Linked DNA regions of Homo sapiens: region 1 is linked to region 2. Evidence: promoter capture Hi-C in human tissues and cell types (Jung and others, 2019). All regions are on one chromosome and are shown on one strand. The core of a region is centred on a gene start or on the middle of the fragment in contact, and the rest is flanking DNA. Distances in the headings are between cores, read along the strand shown. Region 1 overlaps LOC112267858 (a long non-coding RNA gene). Region 2 holds the start of COL1A2 (collagen type I alpha 2 chain).

Region 1 (5,860 bases), core at 1,897-4,396, 50 kb after region 2:
GAAGGGCTGGGATTCCTCCCTGTGGGTGTGGCATGACCAGTTTTGATGTGGGCTGGTGTTGCTACAGAGAGGTCGAATCTGGTCGTTGGGGCAGAGTGGAGGAAGCACAGAGCTGGACAGAACTTCATGTCAGGTGATGTGCATTTGAGAGTCTAAGAGATGAATCTGTCAGGAAGGTGACCCTGGCTCATGGTAGGGCATGCGGGCCAAAGAATCCAGGTCTCTGTGGGAAAGCAGGTTACCATTACACAAACTGGTCAGTTAATAGTGGGCATGAGAAAAAAATCATGATGGGCAGGGGGTGAAGAGTGAACCCAACCCAACATCAGCTGGTACTGAACTCAGGGCAGCAAAATGAATTTACAGTATTTTTTGCCTGCCTGAATGAGTTAGTTGGGGACTGGGCTTCAGCAGGTAGGGACTGGAGAACCTGGACAGAATTTTCTTCCACTGGACTACATGGACATCAAACAATTAAGTGCAACCATTCCCTCATTGTTCGTGGAGTGGAATATCTACAGTAAGACTAGGAAATAGAACTTATTGGAGGTTTTTTCTTGATGTGGGAAAATAACCTCATTATAGTGAACAAGCAGGTCTCCTGGAATGAAATCACATGACAGCTTTAATCTTTCCCCTATTTCTTTTAGCCCACTCAGTAGGACAAATTTTTTTCTGTTCTTGAATGAATTCCAGGAATGGCACAGTGGCTTTTTTCGATCACTCCACTTTCAGAAAATGAGAGATCCTTTGTGCTCTTCTAGTCACCCAGAAAGTTTTATTTTGGCCCCTAAAATGTCTACTTCTATGTAATACCTTAATAGTAGTCAAAGTTGAGGCTTCTCATTTCATTTAACGTAGGTCTGCAAGAGGTGGTAGCCTGAAGTGGGAAGGGCAGACAGGATGATCTCTGTCTCAGGCTCCCCACCTCCTGCTTCTGTGCCTCTTCCTCCTCCTCCTCCTCCTCCAGCTTGCTAATTGCAGTTTCTGACCCCTTTGGGATTGGAGGGAGCTGAGAGAGAGAGGGGAGGTAAGAGAAAAGCAAAGGCATTAGTTGATCACCACTGAAATTAGTTGATGTCTCTCAACTAATGATGATGTGCTCTCTGGGCTTGGCAGGTGTTTAAAGCTGACACTTTCTCCTGGCAAACTTTGGGGCATTATTTGAAAACTTTCCACCCACCAACCCTGAATCACTAGGGTACCTAGCCTGCAGTTCTTTTGATGTTCAGGGATGTTCCTCCCTATAGTTGCTCACTTACATGATAGTCTCCTAGTGCTACACTCCTGTGTTGGGGATACTGTGTGCCTCTAGGAAGTTATTTTGGGCAATATTTAGAGGACCTCAAGGTTGATTCTTTTCTGTTAAATTCATATAACTATGCATATTCTTTACCTCAAGAAATTCTGTTGTAACCTTTCTTCATGTCAGCTTTTCTTTGTCTTCCATCAGATCAGAATTACTAGTCAGCTAGCATTTCCCCATATTCTTTTGTCCTCTGACAGTACCTGGGGCACACCTTGAGCTCTCTACATGGTCCCATTGAAGCCACATTCCCTGGGCTTGAAATGAAGGAAAACACACCTAATCCTTCTCCCCATGGGAGTTGTGTGGGACTCAACACTCATTAACAGCTCCCTCACAAAATCCACTTTGTAAATGTCAATTTCCCTTTCAGCCTTTATTCTCCTTCATAGGCTGGAGGTGGGTGGTCTGGTCTGGGTCAAAAAAATTTTTTTTTGCTTTGCCATCTCTTAGCAAGCCTTGTATAGATGGTATCAAACTTCTCGATGGGTTGAAGGAATGCTTAACACTCATTATCTTGAAGCCACTGCACAACTAAAGAGAAATAATCAATTTTTTAAAAAATCTTGTTAAAACCTGATTCAGATATTAAGGGTTTATTGTTTTCTTGTAGGTAGAATCACCAAGAAAGAATGAGAGTTTCCTTTTTCCTCCCAACTTTATTACCTTTGAAGACTTTTTAAAAAACAATTTAACATATGTTCTTTATTTTCACAGAAGTCCAAAGTGCCAAGCTAAACCTCATATATGAATCTATTATTAAGACATAACTTTTGCTAAGACTAACAAAACAAAACACTAATTTGGCAGAGGTCTTAAAGTCTGTAGTTGAGTAGACAAACTATTAGATTGATTAAAGAGATTGTCACACAAGGACAGTCTCCTAATTTGCTGAGCATTGTATCTCAAGGTTAAAAAATTCTGGCTACATCTTAAAGCAGGGAAGATCAATTAGAACATTCATTAGATTCCTATTTACACTTTAATTGTCAACTCTGCTCATTTGTTGGAAGCCTTTTTTAGTCATTAGTGTCTGTCAGTAAGAAATATGTCTTAATTTCGCTTATATTCATTTATTCATCCTTTCATTCAATCAACAAACATTAATAATGTGCCAAGCCCTTTGTCAGCTTTTAAAAGTATACTAATAAAAAAGTCAAAGCTTACCCTCAAGGATGTATTCACCTCAAATTCTTATGTAACCAAAATTAGTAAAAATGTGTTACGTTTTACTAAAGTTAGAAAAATAATTGCCTTTCACAACAGAAATATATAAAGATGACCCTAATAAATGTACATACTGATCATTCTTTTCTGCTTGTGGTTTTAGCCCATGATTCAGGTTTAAAATATTTAAGGGTGCTTCATTTTGGCTGTTATTGGCCTTGCATTCTATTGTATATTGGGTAGCTCTTGAGAGCAGGCACTGTGTGTCTTCATTTGGTCTCTGTAGGACCACTAGAGGGTTAGTATGCCCCTCATTTTCTGTTCAGGAGAAGAAGGGGCCTACCTCACCATTGGAGTGTAGAGAGTGGAGTCAGTTAAATTTTCCAGATTCTAAACAAAGTGGTTCCTGAGTACAGCTGCTGGTGGGACTCTCACAGAAGTGAATCTTCAGAGGAAGAATATAAGCTCTCCGAAATCATCTACATGCTATAGGCACACTTTAACAGTTTTCAGATGGCTGATCTTAATGTCTAACACAAAGTTTTTGGTGTTTCTGGACAAGATCTGGGCCAGGAATTAGGAACACAGGAACTAGGTCCTGCTGGGTGCGTGGCCCACACATTTCTGAACATTTAGCAGTCAGACTGCAGCAAGAACTTTTTTCTCTTGGGGTATAATTCCAGTGATAAAATAATTTTGCATTAAAGGTTGAACGCTAATTGTTCAATTTGCTCTAGTACATCTAGTGCTTTCTTGCACCCACAATGGTACCAGTCACTGTGAAGGTTACCGAAGACACATTGACCATAGTTCTGTGTATTAGAAAGGCATATAACAACAGAATATGATGGCCAGAGGGCCAGTCCAGGAGCCTACCAGCTGCTCTGCCATGAACTAAGTATGTGAAATTGGTCATGTCATTTCATTTCTTTGGGCCTCAGTTTCTTTTCTTTCAAGATATATTTATGTTATTTAATTTGAAATATCTGGAAATATTTCAAACACAGAAAAGTACAACAAATACTATAACAAACACTCATATATCCACCAATGAAATTTAACAGTTGTTATCCTTTTTAAAAAGGGGTGAAATGTTACAGAAAAAGTTAAAATCCACCCTATCCTATTTTCTCTCCTTCCTATCCCAGAGATAACCGCTGTCTTGAAGTTGATGTGTGTTCTTGCTACCCAAATTCTTGTAATTAAAAAAACTATCTAGAGTACTATTTATGTGTTTTTAAATGTAAACAAATTGTGTCATATTGTTTCTGTGTTTTTGCAACATTTTTTGTTCACTTAATATTATATTGGTAAGATGCATCCAGGTTGATACTTTTGGTTTTATTTATTCTTTTTATCTATCTACCGTACCATTAAGTAAATATACCCCCAAATTTTCCCTTTCTCTATGCTTGAAAATTTAGGTTGTTGCTGCTTTTCTACTATTTCAAACCATGCTGTAATGGACATTGTTGCTTACAGGTCTTCTTGTGCACATGTCTGAAAGTTCTTTAGGGTAGAGCTTCCTAGGTTCTCCAATGGTGTGCTCAGACTTGGTGTCACTTTGGGTCTCTGGAAGAGCAGATGGAAAGATGAGATTAGATGTTTAAGAAATTTATTTTGGAAAGTGCTTCTGAAGGAGAAAGAAAGAAGGATGTGGTAGCAAGAGTCTTGAGATGTCAACGCAATTTTGACACCTGTGAAAGAAGAGAGGAAAGGGAGTGTTGGATTGGAAAACTCAGACCCCAGCACAGTTCTGAGACGATATACCCCAGGTTCATGGGAACTCCTCCACCAAAGGTTGTTGGTTGGAGGAGTCCAGTGTCAGGTAGGAAAGGGCTAGCTCTACTACCCTGTGCTATGCTCAGGCATGGGCTAGGGACAGCTAGGGAAAGCATGAATCCCAAAGGTGACAGCTGGAGCTAATAATCAGCTAAGTTGCCAGCATAGTTTTCTTGAAGGAAATCTTAGCAACACACCTGTACGGCCAGTGCAGATAGTGATTGCCTCAGCCCACAGTGGCTGAGAAGGGCAGAGGCAGCCAGAGGTCTGACCAATTGTGAGGTCCCAAACCTCTAGGAACTGTGGCAGGGTTACTTGGAGCTTACCATTCCTGCCAGAATAAATCCCTCTCTCCTGTTGGCTCTGGGGATTCCTCTTTGTTTCTTTGGAGGTAGACTATGTATTGAACACTCTTTTTCATCCTGTTTTATCATGTATTTCTATATGGCTGAACAGGAACAGGTTCATGTTTCCTCAATTCTCCACGTTATCAGAATTGAAAGACTTCATTTTCTTCATCTATAAAATGAGAGTCTCAGACCGCAGCACGGTCTGAAATCAATGATCTCAGGCCACTTTCTGCTTTATTAATCTGATTCTAATTTTATTTTTTAAAGTACCAAAACAAGTGGGCAAATCAATGATGTTCTATGGAGTAATGTAGTCAGAGATAACATAAGGGAAAGCTAGAAATACAAGTCTTGATTGGAAAATGGGAACAGCATGAACTGATAGACCATTTACATTTCACAAAGTAGAGGTATTATTTAAGTCTTTTAGTAGACATCTTTGAGGATAGGGTTCCTGGCTAATTCACCTTAGTGTATCTGACCCTAAATACACTGCTTGGGCCATAAATTATTTTTTAAAAAGTGTATTAATTTGAATTTAGTTGAAAGAAGAACCAGCACTATTGTTCATTGGAGGAGAGGCTTAGTTCTGCATTTAGAGACTTATATTTTACATTTTAATGATATGTGTAGGTAGAAAGGGTAAAAGTTAGAGTAAAAGTAGTTTATCTTAATATACATATATTGGGTAGAGAACTAAGCTTAAGTAGTGACGGACAAGAAGGTAGAGCTTGGACCAGGACTTTGGGGTGAGATGATCTTAATTTCATTTTAGAATAGTTGGTGCGATGGAATTCATCTGACAAAGTTATGGAAAGGTAGACAAATTACTGAGTTCTCTGAAGAAAACGATACAATGCTCAAACTGTCTATAATAGCAACAACTTATGGGTCTTTCTATATATGGCTATTCAAGTCATTTTCTGACAACAGCCAATAATATTATGGAAATGGAGGCAAATGGTCCCAGACTGACCAAGTCTTAGATACGTAATTTGCAAAATTCACCATTGTCATTGAATCAGATGCCACAGAGGCTAATTTTCCATCTTTATGACTAGAGTTGCCCCTTCCTCAACAAGTCTGTTTTAAAAACTACACTTCCTTTGTTCAGCTGAGTCACAAAGACTTTTCTTCGGTAAATGTATTGTACATTAAAAAACTGATCTCTGTGAACTCAGTTTTCTCATTTAGTAACTGTAGCATTGGTGTTAATGTCAGTATAAGTCTGGTTGTTATAACCAAAGCAAGAGGA
Region 2 (5,413 bases), core at 1,731-4,230:
TCTTGGGAATCTAGGATGGTCAATATTAATGTAACTTCTTCCCTTCCAAGAGAAGACATCACTGTAGCCAAGGGAATCAAAGTATTTTTAAAAATTCTAAAAAAAGTTTTACTCACCTCTTGTAAAGCTGTAGAAAAAAAAAAGAAAAAGTAGGAAACAATTATTAGTATCACTTCATGGATCAATAGCAATAATTAACAAATAGAGAAACAAGTTTATAGAATTGAATTACCTAATTAAGGACCAATTATATTTTTTTAAGAATATTTTAATGACCTAGAAATTATGCAGGTCAAAAGTATGGCAGGGATCAGCAGGGTGATTTGTTTGCAATATTAATATGTAAATGTATTTTGAATTAAATTATTAATTATTTACTATTTTATAACTGTTGTGAAATATTAATGTGTCTGAAGGATATTTTGAATGCTTAGCAATTAAGCTGGTAAAGTGCACAGATGAATCGCTGAATGTAAGACTAGTAGATTGATGAGGAAATAATTTATGATTTTGATCATTTTTAATACCTAAATATCGAAAAAAGGTAAAATTTAGGAAAGTATGTTACCTTAAAATTCTATATTGAATTTGTTTTTTATGAAACATTGAAGCTGACTTACTTTTTTATAAAACATTGAAGTTACCTAGTACTTCATTGAGTTTGTACCATTCTTAATATCCTTTTTCAAAAGGTCTAATTTGCACATTATTAACTATGAAAATGGATTAATTCAGACATCTGAATTTTGCTTTAAATTAGTTCACTTAAATTAGGTAAGATCATTTTACCAATATGTATCATTTTTGTCTCGGAGAAAGAGTTTTGTATAAATGGAAAAACCGGATTAAAGATCTTGAAAAATAATAGAAAAAATAAACAAAAGTACTATCCCCCCTTTTGCCATAATTGTTATAAGTCCTTAAAGAGTGAATTCTTCTCCTACGGTACAAAAATTATAGGTTAATACAGGATACAAGTGTGGCCAAGCTTGCAGTAGGATGAATCACCCCAAAAATTGCTTTAATTAGGTGGCCAAGAAGTGCGTTATTTGAAGTGAGAACATCTGTTGCAACAGTCACAATTTAGGAGGGTGGACCACATCCAGCACTGACATTTAAGGGCAATTTACGAGAATTACTGTTAAATTACAAGAATGATATGTTTACTTCATTGTGTCCATCAGTAGGAAGAATAATTATGCCTGACTTGATTAACGGAAGTCCTTATGATTTTGGAAATTTGCCTTTTAATTACTCAGACATGGACCATTTTGAAGAATGTGTGTTTGATAACATTTATTCCAGACTGTGGTTGGCTGTTGATCAGAAGGTAAGTTGCCTTTGTACCTTCAAATTTCCCTAAGTCTGCCTTCATTTTATTCTCTAGGAGCCGACTCTTTCCTCCCACTCTCAAGATCTCATTAAAAATATGAACTCGGTAATGTGAATTTGTTCACTGCAATTACTCCTTAGTATCCACAGTATGTATACTAAAAGTGAATGAAGGGGGAAGAGACACACAGACACACAGACACACACACACACACACACACACACACAAGCACACAAATGCATTAGAAATTATGCAGTGGTAGACACCGTGCTGTGTGGGTGGAACAACTTTTTGGAGTACTGGGTGTGGTCAGACAATACCATCCCCCATCTAGTCAATATCTTTGTCTAGCACTTTGGCAGCCATTTTCAAGATGAAAACGGACTGATCTTCTTCATTCTCTGTTGACATGAAAGTCTGGCCATGGAACCTAGAGCTGGAAAGTGGCCTTGGGGTCCCTTTAATCTCTGTCTCACATTTTAGAAAAGGCCGTTTGACTTGCCCAAAGTCACGCAGCAAATTGGTGTCAGACTCATGGGAAAAACCCCGGTCTCTTGAGTCTCATCTCAATGTTGATATTTCTCAACTTGCTGCGTTCATAATGTTTGCTTATCACTGGGAACATGTCAAAGGGGTAATTCTCAGGCTCAAACAAAATTTAGAGCAGATTTGAGTTAAAAAATGTTACCATTTCCATGACTAGAAAGTGAATTGAGACACTTATATTACTTTTCAGAATGTACCCACTCCAAGTAGCATCCATTCTTCTTTCCAGGGTTCACTGACTAGCCACTGGGAAAGGCTCCAACCAGAAATGCTGATCATTAATCTGTATAAATCCGTAGAAGCTTTAATTGGGATTCCATCTGCTTAAGGCCCTGTCCCCTGTACTTTCATTTTCCTTCCTCCAGAGGGCGCCTTATAACCATCATCATATCAGCATCGTCATCCTCCTCCTCCGGACAAGCCTTACAATGCCCAGAAGATAAAAGCTCTTAGGAGGTGAGTTTTACATTACTCAGTTGAAGGGCTTTCTAACGCAGGCCTCAAGTTTTACAAGGTGGACATCAGTGCGGTTATGGGGCCTGTGGGGTGCAGGCCCTTGACTTCCTCCACCACATTGGTCGTTAATATCTCATCCTTAGGGAAAAAGACCTTCCGCTCCCTTTGGGGGTTACTAAGCTGAGGAGCCAGACCGAGTTAACTGTCTCACTCTGAACTTAGAGGAAAAGTTCCCTAACTTTTGGCAAGGCTTTTATGTTTTCATTTTTTAAAGTAATTTCCATGTTTCTTATCAATTCCGGCGTTTTCCCACATGCCTGAGAGTCTGCCCTCCAAGTGTACCTGGAATTCAGGTTACAGGTTTTCCTTTTCAGGGCAGGGTGCCCTCCCATCTAACCTCTCTACCCAGTCTCCCCCAAACAAGCTGAAGGCACTTACATTGGCATGTTGCTAGGCATAAGGTTACTGCAAGCAGCAACAAAGTCCGCGTATCCACAAAGCTGAGCATGTCTAGCACTTAGACATGCAGACTCCTTGTGTCGCAGAGCCCCTGGGTCACCGGCGGAGGTATCACCTGGCGGGCGCGGGCATGCAGTCGTGGCCAGTACCTCCAACTTAGCCGAAACCTCCTGCTGCCGTGGTGCTAAAATAATAAAGCCCGGATCTGCCCTATTTATACGGCAAAAGTTTCCCTGGCCCTAGGGTGCCTCCAAAAGGGCCTCCACCAATGGGAGGGCTGGGGCTGGGGGCCCGGGCAGCCACAGCTGGGAGGAGCCTGCGGGGGCGCAGAGGAGGGAGCGAATGGGGGAAGGGACGTGGCCACGGGGCTGGCTTCTTAAATTGGTTCCATTCTTTTTGAGGACGTGGACACTTTTGAGGCTTTCAAGGGGAAACTCTGACTCGTTGTCTGCATACCTCCGCCCTCCGCATCCTCCCGCCCTCCCCCGCCCTTTCCAAGTTTGGAAACACTATGGGACACGTCGGAGTGCTCTGCAGCCCCGACATGGGCAGAATTTGCAGATCTCCGGCGATCAAAGCAGGAGCTGTCCAGTCCCGCCTCACCTGTGCCCTGTAGGCCACTTGTAGGGTGGAGGGCTCCAGCGGGAGCGGAGGGGGCAGAGAAGGAGGGAGGGAAGACTCGATAGCGTGGCGCAGCCGGAGCCCGCCTCCCCGCCCCTCCACCCCTGCACCCCGCCCCCAGCCCCGTCCAGCTTTTCTCTAGCTTTGGGGCTCGTGTGCGCCCACTGTTTCAGCAGTGATGCACTCTCTTTGTCTTATGACTTCGGGAAAGGGCGGGTCCTGTCTGTGGAGGGCTGGGTTGCAGTCGGAGGGCGCCTTTTGTTGGCAGGTGGGCTGGGGAGCAGGCTCGAGGCTGCTTGGCACCCGGCTACAGGGAGGATAGGCTTTGCGAACTCTAGACTAGACCGAGTCACCTGGGGAAGTCCTTCGACCTCCTAGCTTGCCTTTGCTGAGGCTCATTCCAAAGAGGGTCTTTTGGGGGATGGTCTGGCACTCCGACACGACTCCAACCGACCTGGAGACCGAGAACTTATTTCTCAGTCTCTCCTTTCTGAGGCTGCGGTGGGGGATCTTTCATGGTTTCCAGTCTCCCCTCCCCTTCTCCATGGGCTCCTTGTCTGGATTTACCAGTTCTACCCTGAGCCTGGACCCTTCAACCCTCCCGTGAGCCCCCCGGTCCCTCTTGACCTTGCTGCTTACTCTCTGTCCCATCTCTTACAGCCACACCCAAGCACCTCCCCTAGCACATCCAGAGGCCCTTCTGATTCGAGCTTGGGGTCTTCGTAGTCTTCGCTGGTAACACCCCAAGCAGTGCGCCCACCAACGTGGATGTTAACTCTCTCCCCAGCACCCAACTTCCCTCTTCTCTGGCCGCCTCCATCCAACCCTCCACTCCCTACTAGGGAGAGGAGGAACTGGTACTTTGACCCTGAGGTGGGAGGCCAAAGGTCCTGTGCCTTTTTCTAAAGCCTCTTGGGATGGCATTCCAGGCCCTAGGTTTGAAAGGCTGTGTGTGTGTGTGTGCGCGCGCGCGCGTGTGCGTGTGTGTGTGTGTGTGTGTGTGTGTGTCAGGCCTCTCCTCTACTTGCCTAAGGTCCCCATGAGGCAGCGGGGGCCTAGTTAGAGTGCTGCTCTATCCCAGAAGTCATCGCAAAGGGGGCATCTTTAGGTCAGTTCTGTCTCTAAGAAACAGAAGCAAGTGGGCTGTAGTTCCCTGAGAATCTTTTTCCCTTCCTTCCCCCCACCCCCTCCCCGCTTTTTTTGCTTTGCCTTAAGGAAGAATTTCTGCAGAAGTTAACTCCATCAGCAGCTTCTGTAAATAAAAGGGACTATTCTAAAGCAGGTTACTCTTTCTAAATGTAAAAGAAGAAAAAAAGGTTAATGCAAGTAAAAGTGGATAACCAAAAACTATAATAAACTCTTGTTTTATTCTAATTAAAGGCACTCACTTGGGAGACCACTTTGGATGATTTTTTGAAGTAACTGGGAGTGAAAGAATTTGAAAGGGTTACTGGTCATTCCTAGAAGGGGGTTTACAGGGAGCAATCCACATTCAAATTTTTTTCTAACTAGGCAACAATGTTTGAAGTTTTCTAGGTTCTAGGAACAACAACAACAAAAGACCTGAGGTTGAATTGTATATTCCAAGAACATTTTTAACATTTCCCTGAAATATCACCGTTACAGAACTAACAAAAAACTTTTAAAGTGGAAATCATTTTTATCAGGAAAGAAAAACTTCAATACTACATCATAACAAATTTTTTTCTGCATATCAGAAGAGTGAGAAATGATTTCTAAGAATCATTGTTACCACTGTGCTGAATTACCTTTGCAGGGCATATGTGTGTATTTGTCCTGTGTTGCTGAGAGTCAGAGACTAATTCTGAGCAAAATGACTCAGGGTGGTAATGCAACAGATTTATGAAAGAAACCCTCCAAATACCCTTCAGTGAGGTTATCTGATAACGCTTCTGGGGTCAAGTTGGCTCAATCATTGGATTTGCAATAGATATCCCAAGTTTTAAACATTTCATTGTAGGTTTTGTTGTTGTTGTC

The links. The method cuts DNA at HindIII sites, captures the fragments that hold promoters and counts their contacts. A contact is called where the count stands out against the background at its distance.
Region 1: a fragment that was not itself captured here is called in contact with the fragment with the promoter of COL1A2 in region 2 in 1 of the 25 tissues and cell types used here (aorta).

What each region holds. Positions count from the first base shown.
Region 1 is chr7:94,341,812-94,347,671 of GRCh38, reverse strand. All of the region lies in intron 1 of LOC112267858 (a long non-coding RNA gene), which reads left to right. LOC107986821 (a long non-coding RNA gene) reads right to left here. Exons shown (of 4, transcript XR_001745275.2): 3 at 3,954-4,045; 4 at 609-1,012. Among named protein-coding and RNA genes, the nearest start is that of COL1A2-AS1, 47 kb to the left of the region's middle. RefSeq lists an enhancer at 1-1,022. The HindIII fragment of the contact is 5,169 bases long and covers 562-5,730 here.
Region 2 is chr7:94,392,462-94,397,874 of GRCh38, reverse strand. It overlaps COL1A2 (collagen type I alpha 2 chain), which reads right to left and starts at 2,980. Exons shown (of 52, transcript NM_000089.4): 1 at 2,774-2,980; 2 at 117-127. The coding sequence starts at 2,843. The HindIII fragment of the contact is 19,147 bases long and covers 1,586-5,413 here.